5 separate regions of the Homo sapiens genome follow, and all the other regions are linked to region 4. The links are contacts of gene promoters, found by promoter capture Hi-C in human tissues and cell types (Jung and others, 2019). All regions are on one chromosome and are shown on one strand. Each heading gives the region's core, a stretch centred on a gene start or on the middle of the fragment in contact. The rest is flanking DNA. Distances are from core to core; before and after follow the strand shown. Region 1 has its middle 11 kb from the start of WDR33. Region 2 overlaps AMMECR1L (AMMECR1 like). Region 3 overlaps LOC124907884 (a long non-coding RNA gene). Region 4 holds the start of LIMS2 (LIM zinc finger domain containing 2). Region 5 overlaps IWS1 (interacts with SUPT6H, CTD assembly factor 1).

What was found. The method cuts DNA at HindIII sites, captures the fragments that hold promoters and counts their contacts. A contact is called where the count stands out against the background at its distance.
Region 1: a contact is called between a fragment that was not itself captured here and the fragment with the promoter of LIMS2 in region 4, in 1 of the 25 tissues and cell types used here (pancreas).
Region 2: a contact is called between a fragment that was not itself captured here and the fragment with the promoter of LIMS2 in region 4, in 2 of the 25 tissues and cell types used here (heart right ventricle and hippocampus).
Region 3: a contact is called between a fragment that was not itself captured here and the fragment with the promoter of LIMS2 in region 4, in 1 of the 25 tissues and cell types used here (spleen).
Region 5: a fragment that was not itself captured here is called in contact with the fragment with the promoter of LIMS2 in region 4 in 1 of the 25 tissues and cell types used here (mesenchymal stem cells).

Annotation. Positions count from the first base shown.
Region 1 is chr2:127,821,314-127,824,013 of GRCh38, reverse strand. No RefSeq gene overlaps it. Among named protein-coding and RNA genes, the nearest start is that of WDR33, 11 kb to the right of the region's middle. The HindIII fragment of the contact is 3,309 bases long and covers 1-2,700 here.
Region 2 is chr2:127,878,382-127,881,081 of GRCh38, reverse strand. The region is part of intron 2 of AMMECR1L (AMMECR1 like); the gene reads left to right. It also overlaps the pseudogene LOC107985803. Among named protein-coding and RNA genes, the nearest start is that of AMMECR1L, 6.2 kb to the left of the region's middle. The HindIII fragment of the contact is 5,734 bases long and covers 1-2,700 here.
Region 3 is chr2:127,456,592-127,459,291 of GRCh38, reverse strand. It overlaps LOC124907884 (a long non-coding RNA gene), which reads right to left. Exons shown (of 2, transcript XR_007087229.1): 2 at 1,371-2,700. Among named protein-coding and RNA genes, the nearest start is that of MIR4783, 34 kb to the right of the region's middle. The HindIII fragment of the contact is 4,271 bases long and covers 1-2,700 here.
Region 4 is chr2:127,674,247-127,676,946 of GRCh38, reverse strand. It overlaps LIMS2 (LIM zinc finger domain containing 2), which reads left to right and starts at 1,417. Exons shown (of 10, transcript NM_001161403.3): 1 at 1,417-1,933. The coding sequence starts at 1,923. The HindIII fragment of the contact is 18,801 bases long and covers 1-2,700 here.
Region 5 is chr2:127,501,292-127,503,991 of GRCh38, reverse strand. IWS1 (interacts with SUPT6H, CTD assembly factor 1) reads left to right here. Exons shown (of 14, transcript NM_017969.3): 4 at 416-605; 5 at 1,120-1,177. Among named protein-coding and RNA genes, the nearest start is that of IWS1, 24 kb to the left of the region's middle. The HindIII fragment of the contact is 3,564 bases long and covers 1-2,700 here.

The DNA of each region.
Region 1 (2,700 bases), core at 77-2,576, 150 kb before region 4:
TTTCAGCAGGTGTTACTGTACTTTATCAGAAGCATTAATATAAAAGTCACATTTTTTTTTTGAGATGGAGTCTTGCTTTGTCGCCCAAGCTGGAGTGCAGTGGCATGATCTCAGCTCACAGCAACCTCTGCCTCCTGGGTTCAAGCAATTCTTCTGCCTCAGCCTCCAGAGTAGCTGGGACTACAGGCATGCACCACCATGCACAGTTAATTTTTGTATTTTTAGTAGAGATGGAGTTTTACCATGTTGGCTAGGCTGATTTCGAACTCCTGACCTTGTGATCCGCCCACCTCAGCCTCCCAAAGTGCTGGGATTACAGGCATGTGCCACCGCGACCGGCCTAAAAGTAACATTTTTTTAAGTGGATAAGTGGCATTGGATTGGGTGGCTAGAGTAACTTTATTTTTATATTTTATTATTTTATTTTTATTATTATTCTTTGAGACAGAGTCTTACTCTGTTGCCCAGACTGGAGTGCAGTGGTGTGATCTCAGTTCACTGCAACCTCCACCTTCCAGGTTCAATCTATTCTCCTGCCTCAGCCTCCTGAATAACTGGGATTACAGGTGCATGCCACCATGCCTGGCTAATTCTTGTATTTTCAGTAGAGATGGTGTTTCACCATATAGACCAGGCTGGTCTCAAACTCCTGACCTCAGGTGATCCACCTGCCTCGGCCTCCCAAAGTGCTGGGATTGCAGGTGTGAGCCACCGTGCATGGCCAAGGGGACTATTTTTAAGACAGACTTCACAAGCATTAACAACCTGTTTGACTGTTTTTATTAAGCTCTCTCCTGAAAAAAAACTCTGAGCACACTGGTAAGTTTTATCCTTTCCCAAGTGAAAAGCTTGGTGAAGAACTTTAAGGACTTTCCACTGGCTGGAGGCTGGCAAGTGGAGCTTGCTATCCTCTGACTGTAGCCATCCTGAGGGCTGAAAAGTTTACCCTGGAGAGATGGCCTATTCTATCTCTGCAGGGGAGTACTGAGGCTTAATTTCTCTTATGGAGCCTTCGCAGATGAGAGGGGCTTCAAGTGTGTTGATGCTCTGAGGCTTCCTTACTGCTGACTTGGCTGCCTGATGAGCTAACTTGTTTCCTTCAGCTATTTAATTTGTTCCCTTCTGGTGTCCCTTACAATGCATCACTGCTACCTCTCATGGAAGGAAAACTGAGGATAATAACCTGTTAATTTCCTGGCAGTATTTTATAGGGGATCCATTAGCAGTAAGAAAGTGTCTTTCCTTCCAAACGGCAGCGTGAGCATGAAGAACTAAGAAAGCATACCTGGAGTCTGTAAATGTTAACTAGCTTTCCCTTGCTTAATTCAAGTGCTGTTGTAAGAGCTATTAGTTTAGCTAGTTGAGTGCTTGGGCCTGGAGAGAGGGGTACACTTTTAATAACATCATTCAGAGTGACTGCTGCACATCCTGCCTTCTGGACTCCCTGCTTCAGAATGGAACTTCCATCCGTGAAGAGGGTACAGTCTGGATGAATTGGGACTACAGCCTCATTAATGAGGTGAGGTTCCTGAACTAATCTCCATTCCCCACTGGGTTTTTGCACTCCTAATATTGGGGTGCAGGACCTTAACAGTGCAGGACCTGTTACAGGGTTTCAGGAGGTCCTACATCTTTAGGTTCATAATGGCTTCTAGCACTTTCCTAGCTTCTGGCTTTAGGGGATCTTGTTTCTGGTTAGGAAAAGAAGTAGGAGCCTTATGATGGATCCGAACTGGCCTAGTAGTTAATAGCTTGACCTATTTTTCCTTGAGTTGCCCACACTTCTGGATTAATATTAGCTTCCACCAGGGGGAAGAGTTTGTCTGGGGCTATAAGGATGCTGGCCCCCATGCAAGCTAAAATGTCTTTACCTAATAAAGGAGTGGGATTTTTCAGGCATAATTAAAAAGGCATGTGTAAATAATAGGTCCCCCCCAACTACAACGAAGGGGTTGAGAAAAATATCAGGTTAGAACCTTTCCTGAGACACCCATCACAGTTGTGCTACGGGAAGAGGGGAGTCTTGGATTAAAGGGAAGATGAGAGAAGCTGGCTCCAGTGTCCAGAAGGAGGTCACCCTCCTTCCTTCGATTTCCAGAATCACCTGGGGCTCCTGTGCAGTAATGGCAGTTCAAGCTGCTGGAGCTGGGGGTTTGAGCTCCAGGACCAGTTAGTCCTGTTGGACAATCTGTGAGACTGGTTCTGAACCCAGTGACCTCCATCTCCAGGGGCAGTCCAGTTTCCAGTGGTCTCTGCCACAGACTGGACAGGGTCAAGGTTGCTTCCTCTTGTTGCCTGGGCACTCCTTCTTAAAGTGCTCTGACTTGCCACACCAGTAGCAACTAGTGGATGCACCTTGGGGATCCTGGACTTTGCAAGCCCGCAGAGCAGCTACTAGAAGCCTCTGTCTTCCTCTTGTGTTTCCTTTCTTTATCTTGGGCGTCCTCCTGGTCTCTTTTATAAAAGACCGAGGTGGCCTCCCTCAGGAGGTTTTCCAAGGTGCTATCTGGTCCTATAGCCTGCTTCTGCAATTTCCTTCTAATACTGGGAGCTGCCTATATAATAAACTTGTCCTTGAGGATGAGCTGTTCCTTGACTGAATCAGGGAATAAAGAGATGTGTTTTATTAGTGCCTCTCTCAGCTTTTCCATAAAGGCTGTGGGATTCTTATCTGGCTTTTGGTCTAACATGCACAGTTTA
Region 2 (2,700 bases), core at 10-2,509, 200 kb before region 4:
GGTATGTTTTAGCAAGGATGACAGCTACCAGCATACATTGGACCAAGAAGTGAATTTAGGTGATAGTTGACCTAATTTTTAAAATGAATTATCCACAGTGGCTATCCATTTTGCTATGAATAATTATTAAACTATCCCTTGGTTTGGGCTGAATAGAATGGAGATTGTTGATAAGAATAGGTGCTTGTAATTCAGTCATCCTCAGGTTCTGCGATACTCCACTGTCAGCAGGCAAACTTAAATTATTAGATGTGTAGATAAGATTGTTGGTGACAATCAGGAGTGTGTGTGTGTGTGTGTGTGTGTGTATACTGTATGTAGGGCACCATGTTAGGTGCAGTGAAAGATGAAACAGATGCCCTGCGGCCTCTCAGGCTCAGGGTGATGCCGAGTTCAGTGCTGGCTGAAATTTTTAAGTTGTAAGCTGCTCCAAATAGCAGGGCAGTGCTCAGCGTCCCCACAGAGAGGGAGGAAGAGTCACTGAGTGGCCCTTGTTGCAGGCCCTAATGAAGTTCAGGGCCCCCTTGAGTGTGTACATCAGGTGGAGAAGAGAGAACGTCCTGCAAGCACAGGGCAGATGAGGACGCCGCAGCATCACTGAGGAAGGCTGGTGACTTTAAGCACTAAGGGCACACTTTATTTGACACCTGCAAGGTTAGGAGGTCTTAAGAGGTAAAACAGTGGTTGCTGTGATTTCTGCCAGCTTTTTGTTGAGGTATGAGTATTGTTTCCATCTGGTGGAAACCTAGTTTTAACTAGCTTATTCTTATTGGTGGTCCTAATGGATGAACAGGAAGAAAAGGGACTCTCACCATGGCCCTTGAGCTGAGCTTTGTGCAAGTAACCAGCTGAAGGCCTGGAAGGGTCTTGGTTATATATACTTTCATAAAGCAAGGGTTTTTACACCTGATTTCAAACTTTGTCTTTTTCCTTCCGTTTTTGTGGAGAATGGGATCTTACTGTGTTGCCCAGGCAGGTCTCAAACTCCAGGGCTCAAGCTATCCGCCTGCCTCTGCCTCTCTAAGTGTAGGGATTACAGGCGTGAGCTCCTGCGCCTGGCTTCTCTTATTTCAAATGAACCAGCTTCACAGTAATTTGTACTATGCTCACAGTACCATCCTTGGTAGTTTTTATAAAGTTTGGCAGGGAAGTTTGGCGGGCACAGATTTAGAAGAGGTAAGTATGTCATTAAGTGGAGCATTTGTTTTTGGCTGATCAGAAGGATAGTCTGATCTATTAGAATGCTATTATTCTGAAGTACCTTACCTAGTACTCACAAAGCCGGGCTGCTGGAGGACCAGGTGTCTCTTGATCACTGTAGGGCAGTGCTGAGAGCTGAGTCGGGAACTACTTAGTTGTGGATGAGATACCTACATTGTTGGAATAGGACTAGAGAATCTCGAACCTAAAGAGAAAATTTCGATGAAATTTGTTGATAGTGGTTGATGTTTAAGAAGTCTTTGTTTATTACCAGCACCTTGGTTTACATTCTTTGCCTGTAGTTGTTATATATTAGTCCATTTTTGCATTGCTATAAATACCTGGGACTGGTAACTTATTTAAAAAAAAGGCTTAATTGGCTCAGGGTTCTGCAGGCTGTACAGACAGCATAGCAGCATCTGCTTCTGGGGAGGCCTTGGAGGTTTTACTCATGGCGGAAGGCAAAGCAGGAGCGGGCACATAACATAACAAATGCAGGAGCAGGAGAGAGTTGGGAGGAGGTGCCACACACTTTTAAATGCCCAGATCTTGAGAGAAGGCGCTCACTGTCATCACTATCAGGAGTGCAGCACCAAAGGTTGGTCCTAAATCATTCATGAGAAATCCACCCCCGTGATCCAGTCAGCTCCCACCAGGCCCCACAGCTAACACTGGGGATTACAATTCAGCATGAGACTTGGGTGGCGACAAACACGCAAACTGTATCAAGTTAATATTTGCTTTTTGTTGGCAGATAAGTAAAATATTGGACCCCTCAAAAAACTGCCTTAAATAATTCCATAGAGGGATGGGAGGTGGAGAGAGTAGGTAATGCACAGAGGTATAGATGAAGTAAGATTGGCCATAGGTTGGAAATTTTTAAATATTGGGCTCATTATACTATTTGTGGAGTATACTATTTTCTCCACTTTGGTCATGTTTGAAATTTCCCATAGATTTGAATTTATGGAATAAGCTTTTAAAGAAATGCCTTCTAATATATTTTTGATGCAGAAAATATCTAACTCTGCTTTTGGTCACTAAAACTCAACTGAGACTATCAGTTGAATTGGTTATTTAGTGGCCTCCAGAGAAATGCTTGGATCTAAAGGGCCAAAGATTGTGGTTGGTTCTGTTCATTGCAAATCATAGTTGGAAGATGTTGGGGAACTGTAAACACAACTGTGTAAAATCAACTGTGATTATGACCCACTGCGGATCAGTGATTGTATGTGGCATGTAGGCAGAATCTTCTGGACTTGAGTTCATCTGCATTGGTGTGGTTTGAAAATCCCTTCTGTTGCTCTGTGATGGAGTGTTTCACCAGTCAGGTGGCTGATACCACCTGGAAGAGAATGTCTGAGTTGTTGCCTCTATCTCACGACATTTAGCTTTTCCTTCAGGTGTGGTTTGGTGTAATGAGAATGATGAAAGGTTTTTTTAGCTTTTGCATTTTATTCTTTCCCTTCGATTCTTTGAATTCTGAGGCTCTAGAGGTGC
Region 3 (2,700 bases), core at 47-2,546, 220 kb after region 4:
CTCATCTTAGTTATTGGATTTGTTGGCATACAATTTAAACGATTCCCCTATTATCCCTTTTATTATTGTAAGGTCAGCATTGATTCCCTCTCTTTTATTCTTTCTTAGTTGTTATTTTATAGAGACAGGGTCTTGCTGTGTCACCCAGGCTAGAAATCAGTGGCTTGATCATGGCTCACTGTAGCCCCGAATTCCTGGGCTCAAGTGATCCTCCTGCTTCAGCCTCCTGAGTAGCTGGACTACAGGCATAAGCCACCACGCCCAGCTCATTTTTGTTTTACTTTTTTGTAGAGCTAGGGTCTCACTATGTTTCCCAGCCTGGTCTTGAGCTCCTGGCCTCAAGTAATCCTCCTGCCTTGGCCTCCCTCGCCCCCCCGCCTTTTTTTTTTTTTTGAGACAGAGTCTCACTCTGTCATTCTGGGTGGAGTGCAGTGGTTCAATCATAGCTTGACTGCAGCCTTGACCTCCTTAGGCAATCTCACTATGTTGCCCACACTGGTCTGAAACTCCTGGCCTCAAGTGATCCTCCCACCTTAGCTTCCCAAAGTGTTGGGATTACAGGCATGAGCCACCACGCCTAGCCATGCCTGGCTAATTTTCCTTTTTTTTTTAAGAGATGGAGTCTTGCTATCTTGCCCAAGCCGGTCTCCATCCTCCTGCCTCAGCCTCCCAAAGTGCTGGGATTACAGGTGTGAGCCACTGTACCTGGCCTCTCTCTTTTATTCTCGACTTTAGTAATTTGCATTCTCTCCTTTTTATTGGTCAGTCTAGCTAAAGGTTCAGAAATTTGGTTGATCTTTTAAAATAATCTATTTTTACTTTTATTGATTTTCCTTGATTTTTTTCTATTCTGTTTTATTTATTTCTGCTTTAATCTTTATTATTTCCTTTCTGCTTACTTTGGATTTTGCTTGCTACTTTTTTTTTCTGTTTCTTAAGTGGAAGTTTCAATTCCTGATTTGAGATCATTCTTCTTTTTAAATATAGTTGGGGTTTGGGGGTTTTTTTTTTTTTGGTTTGGAATGAGGTCTTGCTATGTTGTCCAGGCTGGTCTCAAACTTCTGGACTCAAATGATCCTCCTGCCTCAGCTTTCCAAGTAGCTGCGACTACAGGCATGAGCCACCATGTCTGGCTAATATAGGTGTTTATAGCTGTACATTTCCCTGTACGTACTGTTTTCACTGCATCCCATAAATTTCTGTATATTGTGTTTTCATTTATTTCAAGTACTGTTAAATTTTCTGATTTCTTCTTTCACCCATTTGTATTTAGGAGTTGTTTAATTTCCACATATTTATGAATTTCTCAAATTTCCTTCTATTATCGATTTCTAATTTCATTCCATTTTGATCACAGAACAGACTGTGTGTGATATCAGTCCTCTTAATTTTATTGAGGCTTGTTTTATGGTTTAGCATTTGATGTTTCCTGGCAAATGTTTCATGTGCTCTTCAGAAGAATGTGTGTTCTGTGATTGGGTGTTCTGCAGTGGTCTGTAGGTGTAGCTTGTTCAGCCTTCTGTTTCCTTGCTGATCTTCTGCCTAGCTGTTCCGTCCATTATTGAAAGTTGGGCACTGAAGTCTTCAACTACTTTTGTTAAGTTGTCTGTTTCTCCCTTCAGTGTTACCAGTTTTTGCTTCATGTGTTTTGGTGCTCAGTTGTTTGGTACATTATGTTTATAATGGTGTGTATTCCTGATGGATTGATTTTTTTAGTCATTATAAAGTGTCCTTTTTTGTCTTAAAGTCAACAACCGCTTATCTTAAAGTGGCGAAGTCCAATCTTTTGGCTTCCCTGGGCCGTGTTAGAAGAAGAATTGTCTTGGGCTCCATGTAAAATACAATAATGATAGCTGATGAGCTAAAAAAAAAAAAATCTCATAATGTTTTAAGAAAGTTTACAAATCTGTGTTGGGCTGCATTCATAGCCATCCTGGGCCACGGGTTGGACAAGCTTGACATAAGGGAGGGTAACATGGTGTGTGCCATTGAGAAACTTCCTGGAGAGACATGACCATGGGAACCGACCTGAGAAGTTTACACAGGCAGTGGAACACAGAAGCAGGGGTTCTGCTCCCGCACACTCCTCCAGCCCTCCGCGTGCCCCGCAGCCCACCGTGCTTCACCACCACCTGTTCTCAGGCAGCCCGTGCACTCTCTCCTGTGTGCTTTGAGTTGGTGTTCCTTGTGTCTACTGTTCTTCCCTTTCCCTACCTCGCTAACTCCTACATCTCATCTCACTAAAATAAGATGCATGTGGCCGGGTGCGGTGGTTCACGCCTGTAATCCCAGCACTTTGGGAGGCCAAGGTGGGCAGATCACAAGGTTAGGAGATCGAGACTTTCCTGGCCATCGTGGTGAAACCTTGTCTCTACTAAAATACAAAAAATTAGCCGGGCATAGTGGTGCGTGCCTGGAGTCACAGCTACTCGGGGAGGCTGAGGCAGGGGAATCGCTTGAACCCAGGAGATGGAGATTGCAGTGAGCCGGTATCACGCCACTGCACTCCAGCCTGGCGACAGAGCAAGACTCCATCTCAAAAAAAAAAAAAAAAAAAAAAAAAAAAAAAAAGATGCGCATATCGGTGCTTTCCAAAATCCAGTCATTGGCAAGCCACATTTAAGATGCTCTCCACATCTAAGCACTATTTGTGATTCAAATCAGTTTTAAAACTCATTCCTTTAGCCTCACTCTGAGCAA
Region 4 (2,700 bases), core at 168-2,667:
GAATGTGGTCTCCTCTGTGGAGAGCATGGGCCTCTGGTGTAATGCTTTCAACTTTTCATCCTCTTTGGTTCCCACAAGACCCTGATATTCAATTAACCGTCCAGCAGTGGATTTCTGGTGCACGGCCCCAGCATGCCTACACCTCTGTGTCAGTAATGGTGGAAAGCCTTTCTCCCTGTATGAGCAGGTGAGCCAAGAAATTATCCATACTTAAGCTTAATCAACCATCAAATTACAGTTAAGCCGAATCAGCTGAGACACGCTCGCAACAAGAAGTAATAACTCGAGACAGTCGGATCACCTGAGGCCAGGAGTTTGCAACCAGCCTGACCAACATGGTGAAACCCATCTCTATCAAAAATACAAAATTAGCTGGGTGTGGTGGCATATGCTTGTAATCCCAGCTACTTGGGAGGCTGAGGCAGGAGAATCGCTTGAACCTGGGAGGCGGAGGTTGCAGTGAGCGGAGATTGCACCATTGCACTCCAGCCTGGGCAATAAGAGCGAAACTCCGTCTCAAAAAAAAAAAAAAAAAAAAAGTAACAACTGCAAAGGCACTCCACAATACCAGCCACTTAGGAACAGGTGTCTTTTCCCAGCTTATTTCTGCAGGTGGAACTGCAGGATACTATCAACTCATCTTTCTGAACGGCACCAGTTTATTTGTGGGTTGCTAATTCACACCGTCATTTCTAGATCATCTTTCTCTGCTGCCAAGACCGGAGTAGCACCACATTTACACATCAGGCCGCCCAGCTCCCAAACCTCAGTGTGACATCTGGGCTGCTTCCAAAGATGAGCTGCACGCCACTGTCCAGCTGGAAATATCTGCCTTTAGGCAGGGCGGGGGTTTTTTGTTTTGTTTGTTTGAAAATTTCCTCCGAAGAGATTCCCTAAATAGTTTATATTACCCCTCCATCTTAACGCCTCTAATGGTAGCTTCTCAGCGCTTCATTATACAGAGGCGTGCCTGGTTCCCCTGGAAACCTGGGAGCTGGGCATTTGGTTTTGTCGTTTAAGAAATATCTTTCGCCAAGTTAGGGCGATGGCCCGCAACGGGGGATGAAATCGGAATTTCCCGGGGAAAGCAGCTTTGCGACTGAAGAGGGACGCCTCTCGGCTTTAGCCTCCCTGGGGGCGGGACTGCGTGGACTCGGCGGTCCCGGGTGCCTCGGGAGGGAGTCAGTGCCCAGATCCGCGGTGGGAACTCCGGGCTAGGAAAGCCCGGGAGGGAGGTGGTCTCAGCATCGCCCCCACGCCTACCATCTCCTGCACGCGTTTGCGGTTGGGGCGGCCCAGGGACTGCAGAGGGGGCGCCGGGCGGGGCGTCCCGGCGGGGCTGTGGGGGTGGGGGTGCTTGTTCGCGTTTATTATAACTTTACTCCCTTTAAAAGGAAAGCTATGCCCGGAATCCAGGAGGTGGCGAGCAGAGCCCGGGTTGGGAAGGACTTGACCCGCGCCCGCCGCTGGCCGCGCTCCGTGTCCCTGGAGCTGGGGCTGTGCGGGAGCGGGGCCCACCCTCTACCTTTACCCCTACTTTTACCCCCACTCCCACCCCCGCCTCACTCTCACCCCTCCAACCCCACCGTCAGCCCCACCTTTAACCCCCACCCCTCCAACCCTACCCGCCGCCACCCCCACCTGCCACCCCCACCCCCACCTATACTCCCGCAACCTCCCACCGTCACCTCCCCAACACCCCCACCACCCTCAGCCTTGACCTCCCCATCCCACCCCGCCCCGCGGGCCCCACCCTGCCACCCCCGCCCACCCCTCTCGCGGGCGGAGCGGCTCTTGGCCTTTTTTGGGCGTCTCCCTGCTCCGCGGCCCGGGCTGGCGGGCGGGCGCTCGGCTGGCGGCTGCAGCAGCAGAGGGAGACCCGCGGCAACCCCGGCAACCCAGGGCTCGGCGTCGCTGCCACCATGACGGGAAGGTAACGGCCCCCACCCACGCCCCCGGGCCGGGGAGGCGGGACTGCGGGACCCCTGGCCGAGGCGCAGCTCGCCCTCGTACAGCCCCGCGGCGCCACGATCCCCGCTCCGCCCTGGCGCGTCGGATTCTCGCAGCTGCCGGGGCGGCAGCGCCCGTCGGGGCAGGGGTCCCCCAGCCCCCGCGCCTCTTCCTCTGGGCGAGCGCCTGCAGCGGAAGGTGGAGCTCCTGCCCACCCGCCCGCTGCAAGATGGGACAGCCGTCTGCTCACAACCGACGCCCAGGGCTGCGGGAGGGGGTCTTGTCCAAGGTCAGACACCAACCACGGGCAAAAGGTTCAAAGGTTGCGTGCCTCCCCCAACTTCCCCGAGCCCGCGCTGTGCGATCCCCGATCCCGGTGAGTGTCATCTCTGGAGCCTTCCGTTTCCTCCTCTGTAAACCTGGGGTGGTAAAAATGTTAAAAATGTTGAAGGGTATGTTGGAACTTGGCCAGAGCTGCGCCCAAGCACCAGCTGTGCAGGGGTTGGTTGGGGACAGGGCGCTCCCCTGGGCCTGGCCCACCCTCTGCTCTCAGGCCCCTCGTTGCCATTTCACAGATGAGGTCACCAGAGGCCACAGAGGCTGAGCCACTCAGGAGGCCAGTCACAGGTCCACCAGTGTCCGGCCAGTGTTTGTCCCTGCAGCCCTTTCTGGAACCTAGCTGGGTACAAGTGCATGACTCAGGACTGGGTGGGAGGGGGCTGTCCCTGAGGCCCTGGTCTCCCCCAGCCA
Region 5 (2,700 bases), core at 151-2,650, 170 kb after region 4:
AGGAACATGGAGACTATTCCTAGAAAGAAATATGTAGTCCTTTTTAGTTCAGTTACTACTAGGCAACATAGAAAGGATGCCAGTTTTGCCCATCAATCTAGTTTTAATTTTCTCGATTTCCCAAAAGGAAAGGTGGCTGCTTTTATATTGATGATATCTTTCTTCATCTTTTGGCCAGTTTTTCTTAAGCAAAATAACAGATAATTTGTAAGATGACTCTGAATGAGCCATTTAGTTATTTTAAAAATTCTAAACCATGTGTCAGGAGGCCCTCTGATTTTATTTTATTTATTTATTTATTTATTTATTTATTTATTTATTTTTGCTGTATACTGCCATCTTAAAGCACCTGTTATGCTTAGTAATACAATGGCTGTGATAAAATAAAATTAATGATGATTTTCTTTTTCAACAGCAGCAAAGAAGAGTCGTGTTGTCTCTGATGCAGATGACTCTGACAGTGATGCTGTATCAGACAAGTCAGGCAAAAGAGAGAAGACCATAGCATCTGACAGTGAGGAAGAAGCTGGGAAAGAATTGTCTGATAAGAAAAATGAAGAGAAGGATCTGTTTGGGAGTGACAGTGAGTCAGGCAATGAAGAAGAGTAAGTGACAGTATAACATGAGTTTTCAGGGGTTCTTAATTAGGCAGTAGAGAGGGGTCTGTGTTATAATACAATATGTCCTGCCTAATTGCATGTCTTTGGGGATTTAGTATTTTAGTTCCTGAACTGAACACACTACAATGTGGGTGAATCTCAGAATTCATCTCAGAATTAACATGTTAAGTGAAAGAAAGCAAAGAGGACATATATGATTCCATTTACATGAAGTTCAGTAGGCAAAATTTATCTGTGGTGTTGGAAGTCAAGGTGGCAGTTGTTTCTAGGATGTTGATATTGGGGACCAGCTAGAAGGGGCCATGAGAGGACTTTCTGGGGAGGCTACATGAGTGTATAGGGTGCTGGTTACATGAGTGTATATATTTGTTAAAACTCATTGAACTGAACACTGAAGATCTGCACATTTTACTGTACATAAATTCTATTTTTTAAAAAATGGTTCCTATGCAAATGAGGATAAAGCAAATGAATGTTTTTACATTTGTCTACTTTCTAGAAATCTTATTGCAGACATATTTGGAGAATCTGGTGATGAAGAGGAAGAAGAATTTACAGTAAGTATAAGATGGAAATATTTCCTCCTTGATTGTGCTTTTTTTTGGTGTTTTTATGGCAGTGATACCATTATAGATGATTCTAATAAGTAGGAATAAACAATTATGATGTATTCAAGATAAAAATCTAGAAGAGGGATTCAGGAAGTAAAATGAAAGCGTATATACAAAGACATAAAAGGAAGCTAATGGGCAAAATTGAATTAAGGGGGAAGGGACACTTTGAGACAAAGAAAGTCACTTTATAATGCTAAAGGGCAAGATTCACAATAATTAGGGAACTTCCGATTTTCACAGTGGCATTCTAGGTGATTTGGACTAACCCCTCTGCCAAGCACAACTAGAAAAGCTAGACAAAAATATATAGAAATCTGCTCATTATCTAGGAACAAAGTAGCAAAGAATTACTAAGCCAAGAGAAACCTAAAGTGGTAATTCAGTGTTTAGAAGTGCTTTTTCTGTGGGGGTGTTTGCCTGTCAGGCTGAGAGGCTACTCATATTTTTGACAGCCTCAAGGCTTGGGGACAAAATTTAGAGTTCGGGGCCTATTGAGGTTAGGGGGCTTTGTAAACCCCATACCCTGGATTGAGACTTCAGAGAGCAGCACCATAAGATTTAGGGGGAAATAAAATAGCCTTTGCTCAGATTTTAGGCCATCTTTGAATCTTCTGGCAGACTAGAGAATCTCAGTCTCAGAAATAAGATTACAGTGGTTTAAGTTTTTCATATGTACTTATTATACACAAAAATAACATTAAAAGGTAACAGTAATGATGACAATAGTAATAGACTTAGGGCTCTAGATATAGGAATTTTAGATACCACCTTAAATATGTTCAGGGAGATAAGAAACAAGATTCAAAATGTCAGAGCAAACAAAAAGAAGGCAAATTTGGAAAAGAACCAAGTAGAAATTTTAGAACTATAAAAATACAGTAACTGAAATTAAAAACTCGATGTACAGGTAGGTAGGTGCAAGTAGCTGGTAGTCCCAGTTACTCGGGGGGCTGAGGCTTGGGGGTAGCTGGAGCCCAGAAGTTCGAAACCAGCCAGGGTAAAATAGTGAGGCCCTGTTTGAAAAGAAAAATGGGGTGGGAGGGGGTGGGGAAAACAGAAAACTTAGTGGATGAGTTTAGCATCAGATTAGACATACTTGAAAATAAGTGAACTGGAAGATGGCTTAGAAGGAGAGATCTGGAATGAAGCTTCAAGATACAGTATTACAGAAGAAAGGAAAAGATATAGACTATACATCGAAAAGTTTTCGCAAAAATTGGAATAATGAAAGGAGAGGGAAAGTTACATGTATAGCAGAAGCAGTATTTTAAAAGGAAATGATACCTAAACCATAGATTCTCGAAGTTGTACACATTGCAAGGAAGATAAACAAAAAGAAATCTACACCTAACTACATCGTAATAAAACTGCAAGAAACCAACGAAAATAGGAAAGTCTAAAAGCAGCCACAAGGGAAAAAAAATACGTTCAGAAAAGTAATGATTAGACTAACAGCTGACTTCACA